7 separate regions of the Homo sapiens genome follow, and regions 1, 2, 3, 5, 6 and 7 are each linked to region 4. Evidence: promoter capture Hi-C in 16 types of primary human blood cells and fetal thymus (Javierre and others, 2016). All regions are on one chromosome and are shown on one strand. Each heading gives the region's core, a stretch centred on a gene start or on the middle of the fragment in contact. The rest is flanking DNA. Distances are from core to core; before and after follow the strand shown. Region 1 overlaps MDM2 (MDM2 proto-oncogene). Region 2 has its middle 23 kb from the start of MDM2. Region 3 has its middle 3.3 kb from the start of MDM2. Region 4 holds the start of MDM1 (Mdm1 nuclear protein). Region 5 overlaps SLC35E3 (solute carrier family 35 member E3). Region 6 overlaps NUP107 (nucleoporin 107). Region 7 overlaps NUP107 (nucleoporin 107).

Region 1 (2,915 bases), core at 207-2,706, 490 kb before region 4:
AAAAGCACTAATTTCATTAGAGAAAGAATATCAAAAAGCTGTGTGAATGCGTCAAATAAATATTCATATATACCTGTCTCACTAATTGCTCTCCTTCTAGATGAGGTAGATGGTCTAGAAACCAAATGTGAAGATGAAGGTTTCTCTTCCTGAAGCTCTTGTACAAGGTCCTAAGCATTTAGGAAAAAAATAAAATACAACAAACTTAACATAACCAGTAAGCTAACTTGTTGTAAATAACCTTTCCAATTTGCAAATAATATTACATTAGAATGAGAAATTTACTTAGATTACCTTTTGATCACTCCCACCTTCAAGGTGACACCTGTTCTCACTCACAGATGTACCTGAGTCCGATGATTCTGAGAGAAAAGAAAAAGGATCAGAAACTTGGTGGTGGGCGGGGGGCGGCGGGGCGCTACTCAGTAGATATGCTATCAGTCTAACACAAACCCTTATGCAATTTAACCTTTCAATAAACATTAAACATGTATTTTCCAGGTGGCATCCTCATACTAAATGTTGCAGATGTAAATAAAATAATTCAACTTTAATGTAGAAGAGTAAAGTATAATCAAGACATTAAAAGACTGTTAGATAAATTAGCAGAGAGACAGGAGAGTCATTATTTTGGTAGGGACAGGGAGTGTCTGAGAAACAAAGAATCAGGAAATATTTTGTAGGACAATATGAAAATAGGGCTAGGAAAGGCCATTCCAGACCAAGAAAACGCCATGTGAAAAAGTATCCAAAAGCAAACTAACAACAGTTCCTGTTGCAGGACACCACAAGCAGTTCATTATTACTGGAATGTAGGCAGGTTCAGACTGTAAAGGATCCTGTGGTCTAGCCAAAGCAGGACTCATGCTGTCATTCCCTTATCACTGCATTCTTCCCCGCAGATACTTCAGAATCTTCCTTAATGCGATGTTGCAGCCACTCACCATTAAAAAGGATTTTTGTCCAAGAAATGAAACTGATTTCTAGCTCACAGAAAATATTACATCCAGAGAGCAATAATGAACCCCTAAATGGTAATTTTAAGCAGAAGAGTGACAAATCACTCTAGCAAAACATAAGAAAAAGAGGGCAGAGGCAGGAAAACCAGTATTAGACAATTGCAATAATACAAACTAAAAACTATTAAAGCCTAAACTAAGGCATGGAAAACAAATTCCAGAGAAATTAAATAGGTAAAAACCAACAAGACCTGGTATTTGATATAGAAGGCAAGGAAGAAAGGAGTTAAGATGATTCCAAGATTCCAACTTGGGTGAATAAATGAGTGGTACCATTCACTAAAAGAGAAACTTTAGAAAGATAAACAGATTGGATGGGAAGATAACAAACTGAGTTATTCAGGCACATAGGTTTCATTTGTAGTTGGATATACAGACTTTGAGCTCAAAAGTCAAAGTTTCAGAGTTGGGATATACAGACAATTATCATCAAATACCCTTTACTACCCCCCTTGGAAACATTTTCATCTTAACAGTGAACTCATGCCTGGACATTAACATTTTGAAATTATGCATTATCATAGATTAATTTTCTCTTTATACTATGGGTAAGGCATTACACTAATTTTCTTAAGTTGTACATAATAGGTTATATTGTCCAGGAATTTTGGATTAGTATAAACAGATGCTACAAAAAAGATGTAATAAAAAGGAAGCCCTAGGCTGGGTGGGTGCAGTGGCTCACACTTGTAATCCCAGCACTTTGGGAGGCCAAGGTGGGAGGATCACCTGAGGTCAGGAGTTTGAGACCAGCCTGGTCAACATGGTGAAACCCTTTCTCTACTAAAAATACAAAAATTAACCGGACGTGGTGGCAGGCACCTGTAATCCCACCTACTCGGGAGGCTGAGGAAGGAGAATCACTTAAACCCGGGAAGCAGAGGTTGCAGTGATCCGAGATCGCACCACTGCACTCCAGCCTGGGTGACAGAGTGAGACTCCATCTCAAAAAAAAAAAAGTGACAAAGTTGAGAACATGGAATAGGAGTTCTGAAGTTAATTCTACTGATATCTAAACCAAACTCAGACTGCAAATAAGTAATTTGTAAGTTTCCATCTCAATAATACAATTTTTCTAGTAATGTGCCAAAGTTTATTTAAACAAATGAAGGAATGAATACATCAGGGTTACATACTTCAGAAAACTCAAACTACTACTACAAATACTACAATTGTATATTTAGCTATCACACAATTTCTTAAAGAGCTTTAAAACAACAGGTATACATATGTAACCAACCTGCACATTGTACACATGTACCCTAAAACTTAAAGTATAATAATTAAAAAAAAAGGAAATAAAAAGGATACAATCTAAAGCTCAAAAAAAAAAAGAGCTTTAAAACAATAAAATGCCAAATCATCAGCCTAATAACTACTTTTATTTTGGGATAAAATGGAGATACTTTTCTGGGCTTTAAATCCTAACTTTGGAAGAATAAGTATTCAATTCAACACATTTATTAAATACCATATTAATAAAACACTATAGTGTGTGATGCACAATGCAAACCTGAATAGGACACAGGTAACAAAAATATAAACAAGTGCAACAGCCAGACGCAGTGGCTCATGCCTGTAACCCCTAAACTTTGGGAGGCCGAGGTGAGAATATCTCTTGAGCTCAGGTCAAGACTAGCCTGGGCAACATAGCAACACCGTCTCTACCAAACATACAGAAAAATTAGCCAGGCGTGGTGGAGCACATCTGTAGTCCCAGCAACTTGGGAGGCTGAGGGGGAGGATCATTTGAGCCCTGGAGGTGGAGGATGCAGTGAGCCAAGATTACCACTGCACTTCAAGCAGGGTGACAGAGTGAGAGCCCATCTCAAAAACAAACAAAAAAACCCACAAGTAAAACAAAGCAATTTTACAATAAAATCTGAATATGGAATA
Region 2 (2,984 bases), core at 91-2,590, 450 kb before region 4:
CATCAACCAGTTTATTGATTTACTGCCACTATCCTCTTGGCCAAGTATCAAAATATTTTAAGCATGAATTTGGCTGTGACCCTTAATTCATTAATTAATTCATTTACTTTTAGAGATAGGGTCTCGCTATGTTGGCTAGGTTGGAGTGCAAAGTCTATTCGAGGCATGACTGTAGTGCACTACAACCTTGAACTCCTGGGCTGAAGCGATCCTCCCACCTCAGCCTTTCAAGTAGCTGGCACCACAGGCTCACACCATCATACCCAGCAATTCATATATTTAACGAATATTTACTGGCACAGTGCAAGGCATTTAAAATATAGCCTGATTAAAACATATATAACCTGTGCCTTTTTTGAGCTTGCAGTATAGTAAAGGAGAAATACAAGAAGCAAATAAATATATAATTGCAAACTGGGATGAGGCATTAGAAGGAAAAGAACTGAGTTCCTAAAAGAGAGACTAGCAAGGTTGATCTTGCTAGTCTGAAATCTGACTGAGATACCATGAGTAATGATCACTTGATTACTCAGAGAACTGCAGCATTTTGGTACAGCTGGTGGTACGTTAATATTTCCTTGTTCATATCTGTGTCCTTGCATAACTTTTTAATATTTGGCCATGCTCTTTGGCCTCTAAATTGAAAGCTCTGTGGTGAAAGGCACTATCTTCCACTTCTTCCTAATTTTCAGAGTATAATACGGGGTGCTGTGTGCAGGACTCATGCTCCTGACTGAATAAAAGACTATTTCTTTGAGTCTAATTAGTTGGGAAAGTCCCCTTGGTTAGATTGCTTTGCCTAATAATTTTGTATTCCTAGCATTTCAGAGTGCCTGGCAGCCGGGTGCAGTGGCTCATGCCTGTAATCCCAGCACTTTGGGAGGCTAAGGCGGGCAGATCTTCTGAGGTCAGGAGTTTGAGACCAGCCTGGCCAACGTGGTGAAACCCCATCTCTATTAAAAATACAAAAATTAGCTGGGCATGGTTGTAGGTACCTGTAATCCCAGCTACTTGGGAGGCTGAGACAGGAGAATCACTTGAACCCAGGAGGCAGAGGTAGCAGTGAGTTGAGATCACACCACTGCACTCCAGCCTGAGCAACAGAGCGAGACTCTATCTAAAAAAAAGAAAAGAGTGCCTGACATAATCAGTGCTCAATAAAATCTGTGGAATAGTGAATAAAAGACCAAATGGATGATTAATTTTTTCACTATACTGATATACCCATTTTATTTTATTTGAGATGGGTTCTTACTCTGTCAGCCAGGCTGGAGTGCAGTGGCACAATCATGGCTCACTGCATCCTTGACCTCCCCAGGCTCAGGTGATCCTCCCACCTCAACCTCCTGAGTAGCTGGGACCACAAGTGCATGCCACCATGCCTGGTTGATTTTTGTATTTTTTGTAGAGACAGGATTTTGCCATGTTGCCCAGGCTGGTCTTGAACTTTTGGGCTCAGGTGACCTTCCCATTTTAGCTTCCCAAAGTGCTGGGATTACAGGTGTGAGCCACTGCACCCAGCTGATATGCCTGTTTTCGTGTCCAGTTAAATCACTCACTTAATCATTTATTCAACAGATAATTATTGAACACATACTAAGAACCAGGCATTGTGCCAGTACTGGGGATACGAAGGTAAACAGAAACAGACAAGATCCTGCCCTTGTGGAACTTATACTCTAGTAAGTACTTTAAAGTCAGAGGTAGACTATTGATCAAGCAGATATAGTATCCTTTTTGGTGTCGAGAGAGAAAAGGAATGTGTCCATACCTTAATGCAACCATATAATTCCCAGAAGTTAGAGCAGGGCTCCTTCATGAGCAGAAGGTACAGTCTGTAATTAGGGCTGAGAGGCAGGTGGCTACGCCCTGGACTGGGGTTAGTCTCTTGGGTTTAGTCTCTTAGAAAGCAATGTGGTTTGCAGTTCTGTTGCAATCCAGATGATGGAATGCCTACCACGAAGGAGCAAGCCCGACCTCAAGCGATAGAGACCTTTTGAGCTAAGTTCCGTCCTTCACCCAGTGCCTGTGTATTGGAATGGGTGGAGTGGGTGAGAGCGGGCTGAGAGGAAGCAAAGCCGTGGAGATTCCACAATGTTAAGATTAAAGAGAAGGATCAGCACAAACACCTCAAGAATGTGACGTGGTGGGTGGTCTTATTTTCCTTGTTCTGGAGAAGGTTGCGTTTTCCTACCAAAGCTGACAGCTGGGTTCCCTTACCCCTGAGGGTGACTGATGTTTGTTCCTAGAGAGGGAATTACATGCCTCTGGCCTGTCTGTGTAGATCTGACAACAGCCATCATACCCTTGTAACCCCCTTTTTGGACCATAATGGAAGTTAGAAAAGTCACACAATGACCAACCTGTACAGAGGAACTTGTCACAGAGTGGACTGTTCAGTTCCACAGTTCATTGTTGTTTCTTTATAACTCAATTAGAATAAGACACAGGTTCAAAAAGAAGCAATGCATCTATGACTGCTCAAATTGAGAGAGAAACTTTTCAGGGGAATTATTCACAAACTCCTTTTCACTGAGCTTATGGCTACTGTTCCTCCCTCAAGTGATAGATTCCAACGAGGTGTCAGAATGGCTTTGATAGCTTCCAGTTCCCCAGACCTAAGGCAAAGAGGGATAAATAAGATCACACACACACACACACATACACACACTTTTATATGCATTAACAAGGCAGTTTTAATCCATGGAGTGATTTTCTCTAAAAGAGGCTTTAAAGATTATGAGTGTGGGTTCTGTGGCTGCACTGCATTGGTATTCTAGCTCTGACACCAGTTTCTGCATCTGTAAAATGGGTTGTTACAAGGATTAAACATGTTATTATCATTTTTAATGATAATAACATGGAATCCTCACTGAAGGCAGTTTTTTTTCTTCTTTTTGTTTGTTTGTTTTTCTGAAACGGAGTCTCGCTCTGTCGCCCAGGCTGGAGTGCAGTGGCGCGATCTCAGCTCTCTGCAACCTCCG
Region 3 (2,874 bases), core at 365-2,864, 470 kb before region 4:
CTCAGAGATCACACATATTTTGTGTCTTGAAAGATGGTGAGACTTAAATAAAAGCAGAGAATATTCCAGGCACAAGAAAATTATCAAAAAATACAGAAAGGAAAATATAAGAGGACTGTTTGAGATACAATAAATAAATCCGTTTGACTTGCATGAAAGTCAAGAAGAAGTTTTAAGAACTTGGAGTCTCCTTAAATGCCAAGCAAGGAAATTTGGGCTTTCGACAGAGTAGACATTAGAAGCATAAAAACAAGTGATTTGCTTCAAACTGTATTTTAACAGGACCACCAAGAGTAGATTCAAACTCAGAATAGTCGGGCCGGCTGCCTTCTGGACCGACTTTCCCCCTTCTCATTGGCCTTGTGCTTTGAAAAAATTATCTTGACAAAATTATTAGAGCAGAAAAAAAAAGGCAGAACTGATAAGATTAGTCCTTTTCTAATGGAACCAGAAAAGAAGGGTCAGAAATGAAGGCAGAAGGGAGAAGCGGGGGTGGGGGAGAGAGAGAGAAGTAAAAAGGATTCACTCAAGAACCTGGTATTCAAAACTACGTGTACCAGCACTACCACAGCAGTATGACTCAGTGTCCACCTAAAGCATGATGATACTGCTTACCAAAAAAAGTCTGGAGGGAATGAAAAGTTGGGTTAGTTTTAAGTTATGGGTCACAGAACAGAATTCGGTGGTAAAAAGCTTAGGCTGGGAACAGAGCTTGAAACAGCAAAGGAATGAGAGGAACGACCAAAAAGCCAAGGACCATATAGTGATGTCTGAAAAATCAGAATCAGGTAATAATATTGAATACTGCAAAAGTCAGAGAAAATGTGGAAATAAGAAAGCAAGCGATCTGGAAAGTGGCGAGTAAGATGGAATATGAGGAGGTTGCTGAGAGCTGGGAGGAGACGGCAGACAGCGGGGAAATAGACGTCTGGAAAAAAAACTGAAGATCACACAGAAAGCAGGAAATTCAAATCTCCCAAAGTGCCCATTGTGATTCAGGATGATAATTTTCCCCCGGGACCCCCTCCACAGGTCCGCATCCTCAAGAGGCCCACCAGCAACGGTGTGGTCAGCAGCCCCAAGTCCGCTAGCAGGCCCGCCCTTCCAGTCAAGTCCCTGGCACAGTGGGAAGCCGAGTACACCGAGGCCAGGAAGCGGATCCTGGGCAGCGCCAACCCGAGGAGAAGCAGGAGAAACCCATCCTCGATAGGTCTTCCTCTGATCTTCTTCCCTTCAGGCCAACCAGGATCTCCTAACCCGAAGACAGCAGACAGCCCAATAATGTGATCAGACAGCCTCTGGGTCCTGATGGGTCACACGGCTTCAAACAGCGCAGATAAATGCAGGCAAGAAGAGATGGCGCGACTGCCGCGTCAACGCGTCCTGGGTCGTCCGCCAAGGGTTGCACTACCGTGGCAGACAGCTGGACTTGAGCAGCGGGAACTTGACTTACTTGCCTGGTGATCCCCGTTGCTCCGCCCACTGTGACCTTGAATCCCATGCACTGTGACCTCCCCCCTTCTCCTCCTTCCCACTGTGATTGGCACTTTGACAAGGACTGTCCCAAGTCAATGGAAAGGGAAAAAGGGTGAGGGTTAGGAGAAGGTTGGGGGGAACCCACCAATTACTCAGAGTAGAGAGTCAGACAGGGCCAGCAATAGCGGTTTATCATGCTCATTAATTTGGGATTTCAAAACACAAATGAACTCACACCTACCCACCCCCAAGTGCATGTCATCACTTAAAAAGTGAGTTCCATTTGAAAAAAAAGAAAGCAAACTACCTGCTCACTCTAAAAGCAGTTGCTGTTGTTTGTGACTTTGCCATTTAAAAAAATACAGACCAGCTGCTGCTGTTTGCTTGCATTCCACAGTTATCTTGTGTCACTTTGCCCTTTGTTGTGCTTACTTGAAGTTTCTCTAGAGGCAAACTGCTTATTTCTAGTAGCGTTGTTCTTGATGCCCAAGAGGTGTTCCAAGAGGTTGAGATACTTTGAGTGTCTTTATATTCTCTGGGACCTAAACTCTGCAAACAAGGCTCACACCTGTAATCCCAGCACTGTGGGAGGCCAAGGCTGGAGGATCTATTGAGGCCAAGAGTTTGAGACCAGCCTGAGCAACATGGCGAAACCCTGTCTCTATAAATTGCAAAAAAAAATTAGCCAGGCGTGGTGGCACTCACCTATAGTCCTAGCTACTTGGGAGCCAGAGCTGGGAGGATGGCTTGAGCCCGGATAGGTTGTGGTGTGATCCTGCCACTGCACTCCAGCCTATGTGACAGAGTGAGACCATGTCTCAAGGGGAAAAAAAAAAGTCTACAACAGACTTATCTTGACCCAAGGGCCACTTCGTACTTGTATTTATTAGTCATAACTAATCTTTTGTCTTTCTTTTTTTTTTTTTTTTGAGACGGAGTCTCACTCTGTCACCCAGGTTGGAGTGCAGTGGCACGATCTCAGCTCATTGCAGCCTCCACCTCCTGGGTTCAAGTGATTCTCCTGCCTCAGCCTCCCGAGTAGCTGGGATTACAAGCTTGTGCCACCATACCCGGCTAATTTTTGTATTTTTAGTAGAGACGGGATTTCACTATGTTGGCCAGGCTGGTCTCGAACTCCTGGCCTCAGGTGATCCACCCGTCTCACCCTCCCAAAATGCTGGGATTACAGGCGTGAGCCACTGTGCCTGGCCACAACTAATCTTTAAAGCATGGTGAAAACTAAACAAGATTTAGCTCAGAAACCGTGTTTAGAATGCTGAGTTTCACAATATTTATGAGACCATCTAAAATTACAGAAGTAGTTCAAATTCCTTATGTCTTTCCAAACATCTGGAACTGAATAGTGTTATTTAAAAGGCAAAATCCGGGCCGGACGCA
Region 4 (2,942 bases), core at 338-2,837:
CGCTTGTTTAGCAGGCAGGCTACATTCTACACACTTGCTTTTGCTGATCTCACCTTAGCATTTTGTGGTAACAAAGCTGTGTGCACAACCAAAGTTGTGCCTTTCTTACTCTGTAAGATGGGCTGCCTTCCTGCAGATGACTTTTGTTCTATGTTCCACTGTGTCTTGTTTGTGCCATTCTTAATTTACACGACAGAGATGCTGTCATCACCAATTAACATTAATCAAGGGCCCCCTGGATGCATGGCTGCATTGGGACTAATTTAATATGCTCTTTGTTCCAGATATCAGGTGGCTTCTTCAAATGATTTTTAAGTATCTCGATGATGATGAAGAACAAAGACATCAATCAGGATTCAGGAAGACAGCTTTTGCGGAAAATGCTTAAAGGGAAGCATCAAGGATTGGTGTTGATATTTGAAAGTTTAAGAGTGGTATACTTTTATTCAGTCAACACATGACAAATGTAAAAGGCACTCATTTGTTGTTCCTGGAAGAAGCCTGGCAGCATTCCATTCAGACATCTGCCCTTTCATCGTCCCACTTTTTACTTATTGCAGTCCTTTCAGTCTGAATATTTCCTCCTGACGCATCTTCTGCCGTCCGAAATGACTCCCTGCTCCCAGATCCTGTAGCCCTTATTATTGACACCTTTCATTTAGAAATTTAGCACATGTCACATTACACCATTATTGAATAAATAATGAATAAATAAATAAATAAAGATGTATGTCCTTCCCAAGTATATCAGAGAACTATCTGGACAATTTCTTTCTTTCCCAATTCTCAGAATCAGCAGTATTCTGTCAAGAAACATTTATCGACGATGATGGCAATAGTCGATTAAAATCAGATGAAGTTTTATTTTTAAAAAAAGGTTGAGCGGAGAGACAAGGCTGAAGGTTTGGAAGTTGAGACAACCATCTTCAATAAACGTTTTCTCATCTAAGGGCTGTATGTACATCATTTTGGGGAAGGTAGAGATTGAAGGAGGAAGAACATCACTGGAGGAAGAGACAGCAGTTTGTCTTTCGAGTTTCAATAAAGTTTCAAAAATCTTGCCTAAGTTATATATTTTTTTGGCCTTTCCCTTTTGATGTGACAATAAACTGTAATGCGGCTGTCGTTTGTACGAACCGATATTCAGCAGAATAAATCTGAGCACTTTCAGAAAAAGAAGCGTTCGGTTTTCTCATAGATGTTAGCATGAAGAACACACTTTGACCTTTGATGCTGTCAAGCACCTGGGCCAGCGAGGCTGGCGGCTGGCGAATTCCACCAGCAAGCAGACGCATTGCTGCGCAGGACCCGGCGAACCAGGGACCGGTCCACCCAACCCAGGAAGGCACCCCCGGGGTCCCGCCCAGCCCGGTTCCGGGAGCCTTATTGGCCGGCCTTCCGCCCGCCATCTCTATCAGCCCCAGGGATTTGGCAAGGGAGGTAGGCGGCTCCCTTTCGGCCACTCATTGGTCAAATCCTAATGGAGGTAAGGCACTCTGCGAGTCTCTATTGGTCCCTAGGCTCCAAAAAGGGCGGGGAAAAACAGACCGACAGGCCTCTAGGCGGGAAGCGCGGAGTGCGCCGGCGCGTAGTCGGGGACGCCGGGCCGAGGCTTTGCTAGGGAACACTGTTATCGCCCCGCCCCCTCGGAGCTTTTTCTCCAGTTAACTGTCGGAGTAGCGGGGGCTCCGGCGCCGGGCGACATGCCGGTGCGCTTCAAGGTGAGGCTGGGGTCCCCGGGCCGGAATGTGGCTGGGGGGAGCCATGGCCGGGGAGGTGTGGAGCGCCGAGGTCACGCTGCTTTTCTGCGCTGCAGCCCTCTGCCCGGCGGAAGCTGCCAGCCCCAGGGCCTGCTCGAGGGGCCCCAGAATCTGCCCGCCGCCTCTTAACCTAGTTCCCTCTCCGCTCACTCACATTTGCAAGCTGCAGTGTGTCGAAGAGTCAGATGGTGCGAGACACATTTACTTAGGGGGACTCAAGAGGAGTGGAGATGGGAGGAGGTCCCTTTGCGAAGAGAACTAAAGGCGACTTCAGATTGGGACACCTGTGGCCCATTTAGCTTAGCATTTAACCCCCATTACCTTTAAAACTTTAGTGTATGTGGCTTTTAAAGGCTTGAGAAATGGGTTCTTAGTAAAGACAGCGTATAAAGAAATACACGTTTTTCATCGTTGTGCATTCTTAGCGTATGTTAAAAGTTCCAGGTAGCTGGTAGCTGTCAGGGACTAGCACCCTGCAACTTCACAGGTGGCCACAGCGTCCCACATCTCCTGACTCATTTATCTTAAAGGCGTGTATTCAGAATGGAAGGGGAGTTTGCCTTTTGTTGACTTTATCAAATAGCAAAAGGTCCTAGGCATGGTACATAATATTGTGTACTCGGTGAAAACCTGCGATAAATCTAGAATGATGAGAATTTAGATTGTCATTAGTTATCCGACAAGAACTCATGCTTTGGAATCAGATAATCAGTGAAAGGGTAACCTCTGAGCCTGGAATTCCTGGTAGCATCTGCCTCAAGTGGTGTTGTGGATTAAAGGATATAACACGTGTGAACTGCTTAGCACAGGGCTGGGTGAATATTAGCTCTTATTAAGGAGCTCGTCTGTGTTTAATTTTCAGTCTTAAGTCTCTTTTGGGAGGTTCAGAAATTATTTTTCACCGATGTCTGCTTTAAAACATCATTCATTAATTGGACTGTACTCAAAAGTGTACTTTGCATTACAGGGGCTGAGTGAATACCAGAGGAACTTCCTGTGGAAAAAGTCTTATTTGTCCGAGTCTTGTAATTCCTCCGTGGGGCGAAAGTACCCATGGGCTGGACTTAGATCAGATCAATTAGGTAAGTTGAGCAGGCTAATAGCCATTCTAACCTGGGCTAAGTTTATAACTTGGGCCAAGCCGTTATAACTTGGGCTAAGTAAACCTTGGGCTAAGTTTAC
Region 5 (2,962 bases), core at 213-2,712, 430 kb before region 4:
CACTGTATATAAATATTTAATTGTTTTCTATTTCTAGTCTTCCTCACCAGAATTCAAGCCTGTGAGAGCAAAGACTTTTGTCTATGTGGTTCATTACTGTATCCCCTGTGCCTGGCACACAGTAGATGTTCAGTATATAAATATTTTTATATCAATGACTGGTTTAGTGGGTATTCAATAAATACTTATTGAATAAATTAATGTTTTAAATCAGAGCACATATTTGGATGCCTTGATTGGGTAGTATGATGTACAAATTTGGGGACTAGACTGCATGGGTTCAAATCTGGACATCCCATTTGTCAGCTGTGTGCCTTAAGTGAGTTGGTTAACCTCTCTGTGCCTCTATTTTTTCTATAAACAAAAATGACAGACTTTACCTCACAGAGCTGCTGTGAGAATTAAATGGACTAATACATACAAAATGTTTCTAACAGTGTCTGACACAAAATAAATATTTGTTAAGTATTGGTTTTCTAAAAAACTTATCGTTGTTGTTTTTTATTGATAGTTGGCAAATATCCTACTTGTTTACTTCCTGGGGAAATTCATTTGTTGCATTTGCCTAAGGGTGGGGGCAGAGTGAAATGTGAAGAGAAACAGGATGACAAGCAGAATGGTACAAATGGACAGTTGAATTTGACCTTTAACATATAACTTCATTTCTATTTTTTCTTTTTTTGGTAGAGATAGGTTCTCCCTATGTTGCCCAGGCTGGTCTCGAACTCTTGGGCTCAAGCGATCCTCCTGCCTCGGCCTCCCACAGTGTTGGAATTACAGGCGTGAGCCATGGCACCCGGCCAATGACTTCATTTCTTGACTTGAAATAATATTGAGAAAAACAGGCACACCCATATCCAAATAAGTACAAACACATACTCCATAGCCAGATGCCAGTGGCCTGAAATTATCTTTTGTTATTTGTTAACCATTCCTCTACTTTGTTACTAGAAATACCTGAAAATTGTTTGAAAATCCAAACCTCCACCTCACTATTCATTCAAAAAATATTTAATCTCACTGTCTGTAAGAAATGGTACTCTGAGTTAATTTTTGTAAGGGAAAAGGTCACCTATTACATAAGAAAATTCAGAAACATTCATGACACAAAAAGCTAACCCACTTCCTCAGTTCATATTTCTTTTTTTTTTTTTTTAAGACAGAGTCTTGCTCTGTTGCCCAGGCTGGAGTACAGTGGCACAATCTCAGCTCACTGTAACCTCCGACTCCCCAGTTCAAGCAATTCTTGTGCCTCAGCCTCCTGAGTAGCTGGGATTACAGGCGTGCACCACCTTACCCAGCTAATTTATATATTTTTTGTAGAGACGGGGTTTCACCATGTTATCCAGGCTGGTCTTGAACTCCTGGCCTTAAGCGATTCACCCGCCTCGGCCTCCTGAAGTGTTGGGATTACAGGTGTGAGCCACCACACTTGCCCCTTCAGTTCATATTTCTTTAAAATCCTTTAGTGGGTAAAGATACAGTAAAAGGCTAAAAATAACTCTCTCTACTCAATTTAGGCCATGCAATAGTTAGTGTGAGATTCAAATAAGGTAATGAATGTAAAAGTTTTGGAAAATATAAAAGACGATGCATTTCTAAGTTATATGAAAAGGATACGTGACAGGTGAAGTGTTCCCAATGATCCAATAAATTGATAAGTTCACCATGAAAGCTATTACTCCAGATAGCAGCACCATAAGCTACAAATAAACCAAAAGAACCATTAATGCAAAGCACTGCAATCATAATCATCAAGCAAAGATACATTTCATTCGGCATTTTAAAAAATTCAAATATCAACCATTAATAAATAAGATTAGAAAGAGAGGGCCGGGCGCGGTGGCTCACGCCTGTAATCCCAGCACTTTGGGAGGCCAAGGCGGGCGGATCACGAGGTCAGGAGATCGAGACCATGGTGAAACCCCATCTCTACTAAAAATATAAAAAATTTGCTGGGCGCAGTGGCGGGCGCCTGTAGTCCCAGCTACTTGGGAGGCTGAGGCAGGAGAATGGCATGAACCTGGAAGGTGGAGCTTGCAGTGAGCCGAGATCACGCCACTGCACTCCAGCCTGGGCGACAGAGTAAGACTCCATCTCAAAAAAAAAAAAAAAAAAAAAAAAAAAAAAGAAAGAGAATTTGGGGTTGGGAGACAGTAAGAATTGCAAGTAAAAAAGCAGAATGAACCGTGTTTAGAAAAAACGTAATTTTTTCCACAAGAATCAACGAAAAATACTGCAATAACATCCTTTCTGTGATTGTGAATTTCCAGGTTCATTTTTCTTATTAATCTAAAGAAAAAGTATACATATGCATTATTATTATTGTACATCAGACAATAAAGAAAAGCAAAAAGAATATAAGGAATTCTTATAATCCCAACCACCCACACATTAACATCTCGGCATACCTCCTTCGAGATCTTTTTCTTTTTTTTTTGAGACGGAGTTTCACTCTGTCACCCAGGCTGGAGTGCAGTGGCACGATCTGGGCTCACTGCAACCTCCACCCTCCAGATTCAAATGATTCTCCTTCCTCATTCTCCTGAGTAGCTGGGACTACAGGCGCCTGCCACTGCGCCCGGCTAATTTTTTGTATTTTTAGTAGAGATGGGTTTCACCATCTTGGCCAGGCTGGTCTTGAACTCCTGACCTCATGATCCACCCACCTCGGCCTCCCAAAGTGCTGGGATTACAGGCGTGAGCCACTGCACCCGGCCGAGATCTTTTTCTATTAAATTGCTCATTTTTATTCTTTTTTTTTTTTTGAGATGGAGTCTCATTCTGTCGCCTAGTCTAGAGTGCAGTGGTGCAATCTTGACTCACTGCAACTTCTGCCTCCCAGGTTCAAGTGATTCTTCTGCCTCAGCCTCCCCAGTAGCTGGGATTACAGGCCCATGCCACCACACCCACCTAATTTTTTTTGAATTTTTTGGTAGAGATGGGGTTTCACCATGTTGGC
Region 6 (2,704 bases), core at 71-2,570, 410 kb before region 4:
AGGAATTTCAAGGTGAATTCTCAGAGTCAGTCTATATATTTCTAACTGCTTACAAATATACACACATTTTGGGAAAAAAGTACAAACATTAAAACATTAAAACTGGACTATTACTTTAAGAAAATCCAAGAGCAATTACAAATGTAAACACATCTTCACAAAATTAATATTACTACAGAGCATATCAAATCATTAAAATTTAAAACTACAAGGCTCTAGAACTTACCAGGTACAGTTTGTGGCGCTCAGAGGATACCATATCTGCTAACTGTAGGCATTCCTGATACTGACCAGTACTGTGCAATATCGTATGAAGCAGAAAACACAACATTGGCAGACAAAGCTTTCTCAGTAAGACCATTTGATGTGTTCTTTCATGGTCTTCTTTGGCATCCTACAAACAGACATCAATAAATCATTTTAACAATTTAAGCTAAAGATCCTTACAAAAAGAAAAGCCAGGTACTGAATCAAACCCAGAATGTAATTGGTAGACAAGATTTAACAGCAAAAAAGTATGAAGATGAACAACGTAGACTACAGAGAGGTATGACAGTGAAAATAAAATGCTTCTGCATTTGTATTTCTAATAAACTTACTATGTCCTGAATAAAAACATGCATAAAAAGAATGAGTTGGAAACTGAATATCATTAGAGCAAAAATCAGAACAGAAAACAATCACCACTCCTTTGGATGTTTATACATATAAATAAAGATAGCTCTAAGGAGGCCTGAGAGGACACAACAGACTGACAGCAATGACTGTTGCTGGGAAAAAGACGATGTGGGGAGGGGCACACAGGGAGGGTCAACTTCATTGCAGACTACTTTGCTTATACACATGGAAAATGGAATTTATAATTTCTTTATATAATTTTTAAAAACAGAAAAACAGAACCTATAGATTTGAATAATACAATTAATGAGTCAGAACAGATATATAAGGAAAACAAGCAGAAAAAACAATTGGCATTCCTTTATACATACATGGATCTTTCTTAAAATCGATGTGAACAGTAAAAGTACAGAAAAAAGAGTAAACCTCTTATGCCCACTACATTTACTTACAAAAAATTTGAAAATTAAAATAATTAGAAAGTAACCAACCACATAATTTCTTTTTTTTTTCTTTTCTTTTTTAACCTTTTTCTTCTTTTCTGAGACAGCATCTCACTCTGTCGCCCAGTCTGGAATGCAGTGGTACAATCATGGCTCTCTGAAGCCTTGATCTCCGGGCTCAAGCAATCCTCCTACCTCAGCCTCCCAAGTAGCTAAGAACCACAGGCATGTGCCACCATGCCCGGCTAATTTTTCTATTTAAAAAAAAAAATAATTTTATTATTTGTAGAGATGAGGTCTCCCTATGTTGCCCAAGCTAGTATCGAACTCTTGGGCTCAAGTGATCCTCCTGCCTCAGCCTCCCAAAGTGCTGGGATTACAGAAATTACACACTACAATTTCTGAAATAATCTTAAAAATAGGAAGGAAATCAATAGCACTAATAGTGTAGAAAAAAAAAACAGGACAAGCTAAAATAATAACTGCTCCTTTGAAAAGCCTAATGGAATACCTAAAAGTATCTTCATGTGAGAGGCTATATTAAATTGCTAAAACATTTTTCAAATGGACATGTAAGTGGAGGGGTTAATCAACAACAAAGTATAATCTGGTAATTATACCAAGGAGTAATTGTACTAATTTGGGCTAATCTAGGTCAGGTTTCCAAACATAGGAAAAATTACTATCAATATTTTGGTCTTGTTTGAAGCATAAATACATAAAAGCAAATATTAAAGTGCTTCTTTACAAGGGAAGCACCTTTATTTCTTTTCTCAAATAGATACTTGCTACCTTCAGAGGTGGATTTAAAATGCTTCAAGGTTTTACTTGTAATTCATATTAGTGATCCCAACCTAGAACCCAGTAAGAATAAGAGAACTGCTTCTTTCTGGACCTTTCCATTTGTGCTCCAATGTAGTCTTTCTGTCTATGTTAAAGAGGCCGGGTGCCCCTGGCTTCTGACTCCTTGTTGCCCGAAAAGCAGCAGGTTACTTTCTTATCTCACAGGATGGACCCAGACTTGCTTTTACTAAATCCTTTTGCTGCCATAATATCAGAGTGTGCTGCAGACAATCTCTTCTGCTAATTATAATGAATTCCGATACTAGCGGGCGGGCTGCCAGCAACTATCCAGGGTAATGGCTGACAGACCCAGCAAATTGCTACAAGGAAAAGCAAATAAACAGCTCTGCTACAACTGAAGACATTTTTCTCATCTGAATGAACAAAAGCTTTGAAATAGCCGGTAAATATGTAAAACAGACGGATTATTTCCACTAGGGATATTTCCACTTTTTTTTTTTTTTTTGAGACGGAGTCTCGCTCTGTCGCCCAGGCTGGAGTGCAGTGGCGCGATCTCAGCTCACTGCAAGCTCCGCCTGCCGGGTTCACGCGATTCTCCTGCCTCAGCCTCCCGAGTAGCTGGGACTACAGGTGCCCGCCACCACACCCGGCTAATTTTTTGTATTTTTAGTAGAGATGGGGTTTTACTGTGTTAGCCAGGATGGTCTCGATCTCCTGACCTCGTGATCTGCCCACCTCAGCCTCCCAAAGTGCTGGGATTACAGGCGTGAGCCACCGCGCCCCCCCATGTAGTGCCTTACATGTGAGAAAAACTCATTACCTAATATGTGTTGATAGCA
Region 7 (2,951 bases), core at 263-2,762, 390 kb before region 4:
TTTTTTGTTGTCAAACGTATTTTAATTTTTATTTAGTTGGCTGTCTAAATTTTCTTTCAGCATTTATTAATTTTTACATTCAAACCTTTGCTCTATATGGAATTTATTTTAGTTACATGGCATGAAGTAGGATCTAGCTTTGTTTTCTTCTGGATGGAAAGCCAATTATGCCAGCGCCATTTATTTAAATAAACCATCCCTTTCCCTCTGAAATGAAATGTCACCTCTGACATCTGTTAAGTTCTCATATATACTTGGATCTAGTTTGGACTTTGTGTTCCACTCATCTATTTATTTTCATGTCAGTTCTATACTGTTTTGTTGTATCTTCATATTAAGTGTTATTATTGAGTAAGGCAAGTACCCTCTAACTACTTTTTTTGCTTTCAGTGTGGTTTTTTTTGTTTGTTTGTTTGTTTTTGAGACAGAGTCTCACTCTGTTGCCCAGGCTGGAGTGCAGTGGTACAATCACGGCTCACTGCAGCCTCCACCTCCCTGGGCTCAGGTGATCCTCCCACCTCAGCCTCCTGAGAAGCTGGGACTACAGGAGCATGCCACCACACCCGGCTAATTTTTAAAATTTTTTTTGTAGAGATGGGGTTTTGCCATGTTGTCCATGCCGGTCTCAAACTCCTGAGCTCAAGTGATCCTCCTGCTTCAGCCTCCAAAACTGCTGGGACTAGAGGTGTGAGCCACCAAACCCAGATTGTTCTTTTTCAAAATGCTCTTGCCATTCTCAATTATTCTTCTACTTGACAAAATTTTCTGTCCAGAAGTAATACCCCAAAGCATTAGGTTTTTATGCTAATTTTGGAATGAGTGACATTTATATTAAATGCCCTCATCGAGGAACATGATATATCTATTTATTTATGTCTTATTTTATGTCCTTCAGTAAGATTCTATAGTTTTTTAAATGAAGGGCTTGAAACCCTGGATTAATTTTTTATTCCTAGATCTCTTTAGTTTTGGTCACTCGTTTAAATGGAACTTTTGGGGAGGGGGTACTAAATCCTTTTCTAAATAGTTATAACAAGCACAGAAAGACTTGACTTTTAAAAAAAAAACGTTGTCTTGTATCTGGCTACTTTAACAAATTCTCTTATTAATTCTAGTAACTTACTGAGCTTTAAGTTTCTAGACTAATATTTTTATCATATATAAATGTTCTTCCCTTTCTAGTATTTATATCTGTTCCTTAATTTTCTTGTTTTATTTCATTAGCTAGAATATCCAAAATAATAGACTGGTAATAAACTCTTGACAGAAAAAGCATTAATTTCCTTACTATATCAAGTGCTCCTATATAATAATAAGAAAAATATAAAACACCACAGAAAAATAGCTAAAAGATATGAACAAAAAATTCACAAATGGTCAATAAACATAAGGAAACATGCTCAGCCTTATGAATAGACAAGAAAATGTGAGTAGAACAGCAAGTTCCTATTTCCCACCTACTCTGATGGATTGGCAAAACATAAAAAGTGTGACATTTGAGGCTGGTGAGAATGTATAATTCAATAAATTACTTGTGGAAGTATGAATTAACTGCCACAACCAGGTAATAAATTATTTTTCCATTTCAATTTTTTCTTTTTTTTTGAGACAGAGTTTCGCTCTTGTTGCTCAGGCTAGAGTGCAACGTTGCGATCTTGGCTCACTGCAACCTCTACCTCCTGGGTTCAAGTGATTCTCCTGCCTCAGCCTCCCAAGTAGCTGGGATTACAGGCATGCAGCATCCATTTCAAAATGTTTCTTTACCTACCTACCTACCTATTTAATTTTTCTTTTTTCTTTGAGACAGGGCCTTGCTCTGTTGCCCAGGCTGGGGTGCAGTAGTGCAATGACAGCTCACTGAAGCCACGACCTCCTGGGCTCCAGTGCAGTAGTACAATCACAGCTCACTGAAGCCACGATCCTCCCACTTCAGCCTCTGGAGGAGCTGGGACTACAAGTGGGTACACCACCATACCCAGCTAATTTTTTTTTTTAGAGACGAAGTTTTGCTATGCTGCCCAGGCTGGTCTAAACTCCTGGCCTCAAGTGATCCTCCCATCTTGGCCTCCCAAGTGCTGGGATTACAGATGTGAGCCACCATACCTGGCCTTTTTATTTATTTTTATTGTATATATTTTTAAGGTATACAACCTGATGTCTTCAGAGAATTCATTCAGAAACACTGTATGTATGTATATACAATGTATAAAGCATATACTTATTTATACTCCTTAACCTGGTAACCCTGCTTTCAGGAAACTTATCCCAAAGAAACAGAAGGACTAGTAGTTAAGTACACACACATGTAACTTCATTACAGCACTAGAAATAACCTAAATACTACCCAAAGGGGAATGATTAAAATAAATCATACATTATTCTAAAGAACACTATGTATTTATTAAAAAGAATAAGGTTAAGTGAAAATGAATAAACTAACTTGGAGATTATCATTAAATGAAAAAAATCAAGCTGTAGAGTAATATATGTAGTAAAATGTGAAAAACACAAAAATCAAAATTCTAAATTGGAGTATCTACATTATTTACACATATTCGTAAGATCATGGAGAGAAATATAGAAGGATACATATCAGTATGTTTTATCATCTCAGGGGAATAACCATAAAGGGGTAGAAATTACTATAAAGGTTTTATTTATACATTCTAAAATTATTTTATTGTTACAAGTACATACAATATTACTACAGTTGTTTAAGCATTTTTAAAAGAATATAATTTTTAGAAAATATTAGATTTTAAGATCTAGGAAAATAAAGTCTTAATAATTTTCCATAATGTGTTTTAAATTTTAAAAAAGGAATAAATATAGCTTACGTGCATATACTTAGATGAAATTAATCCGAAACAAAAAACTAAAAATGATGTATCATTTATGTAATTAAGTTTCTTCGTTTCAAAGAATGATTCTTATTTTAATAGGTGAGAAAA

What was found. The method cuts DNA at HindIII sites, captures the fragments that hold promoters and counts their contacts. A CHiCAGO score of 5 or more calls a contact.
Region 1: a contact is called between a fragment that was not itself captured here and the fragment with the promoter of MDM1 in region 4, in 1 of 17 cell types (megakaryocytes). The highest score is 9.1, in megakaryocytes.
Region 2: a contact is called between a fragment that was not itself captured here and the fragment with the promoter of MDM1 in region 4, in 2 of 17 cell types (megakaryocytes and erythroblasts). The highest score is 6.6, in megakaryocytes.
Region 3: a contact is called between a fragment that was not itself captured here and the fragment with the promoter of MDM1 in region 4, in 1 of 17 cell types (megakaryocytes). The highest score is 8.1, in megakaryocytes.
Region 5: a contact is called between a fragment that was not itself captured here and the fragment with the promoter of MDM1 in region 4, in 1 of 17 cell types (megakaryocytes). The highest score is 6.0, in megakaryocytes.
Region 6: a contact is called between a fragment that was not itself captured here and the fragment with the promoter of MDM1 in region 4, in 11 of 17 cell types (erythroblasts, megakaryocytes, naive CD4 T cells and 8 more). The highest score is 11.8, in erythroblasts.
Region 7: a contact is called between a fragment that was not itself captured here and the fragment with the promoter of MDM1 in region 4, in 2 of 17 cell types (megakaryocytes and erythroblasts). The highest score is 9.5, in megakaryocytes.

What each region holds. Positions count from the first base shown.
Region 1 is chr12:68,821,810-68,824,724 of GRCh38, reverse strand. It overlaps MDM2 (MDM2 proto-oncogene), which reads right to left. Exons shown (of 11, transcript NM_002392.6): 6 at 295-362; 7 at 74-170. Among named protein-coding and RNA genes, the nearest start is that of MDM2, 15 kb to the right of the region's middle. The HindIII fragment of the contact is 6,178 bases long and covers 1-2,915 here.
Region 2 is chr12:68,783,212-68,786,195 of GRCh38, reverse strand. No RefSeq gene overlaps it. Among named protein-coding and RNA genes, the nearest start is that of MDM2, 23 kb to the left of the region's middle. The HindIII fragment of the contact is 4,482 bases long and covers 1-2,984 here.
Region 3 is chr12:68,803,470-68,806,343 of GRCh38, reverse strand. It overlaps the pseudogene SZRD1P1. Among named protein-coding and RNA genes, the nearest start is that of MDM2, 3.3 kb to the left of the region's middle. The HindIII fragment of the contact is 1,838 bases long and covers 696-2,533 here.
Region 4 is chr12:68,331,007-68,333,948 of GRCh38, reverse strand. It overlaps MDM1 (Mdm1 nuclear protein), which reads left to right and starts at 1,587. Exons shown (of 15, transcript NM_001354969.2): 1 at 1,587-1,721; 2 at 2,728-2,842. The coding sequence starts at 1,704. It overlaps LOC105369819 (a long non-coding RNA gene), which reads right to left and starts at 1,318. Exons shown (of 3, transcript XR_945057.3): 1 at 1-1,318. RefSeq lists a silencer at 1,387-1,646 and an enhancer at 1,947-2,036. The HindIII fragment of the contact is 10,890 bases long and covers 1-2,942 here.
Region 5 is chr12:68,757,898-68,760,859 of GRCh38, reverse strand. It overlaps SLC35E3 (solute carrier family 35 member E3), which reads right to left. Exons shown (of 5, transcript NM_018656.5): 4 at 1,621-1,703. Among named protein-coding and RNA genes, the nearest start is that of SLC35E3, 13 kb to the right of the region's middle. The HindIII fragment of the contact is 7,527 bases long and covers 1-2,962 here.
Region 6 is chr12:68,739,503-68,742,206 of GRCh38, reverse strand. NUP107 (nucleoporin 107) reads right to left here. Exons shown (of 28, transcript NM_020401.4): 27 at 227-394. Among named protein-coding and RNA genes, the nearest start is that of SLC35E3, 5.3 kb to the left of the region's middle. The HindIII fragment of the contact is 1,950 bases long and covers 346-2,295 here.
Region 7 is chr12:68,722,251-68,725,201 of GRCh38, reverse strand. The region is part of intron 17 of NUP107 (nucleoporin 107); the gene reads right to left. Among named protein-coding and RNA genes, the nearest start is that of SLC35E3, 22 kb to the left of the region's middle. The HindIII fragment of the contact is 6,669 bases long and covers 1-2,951 here.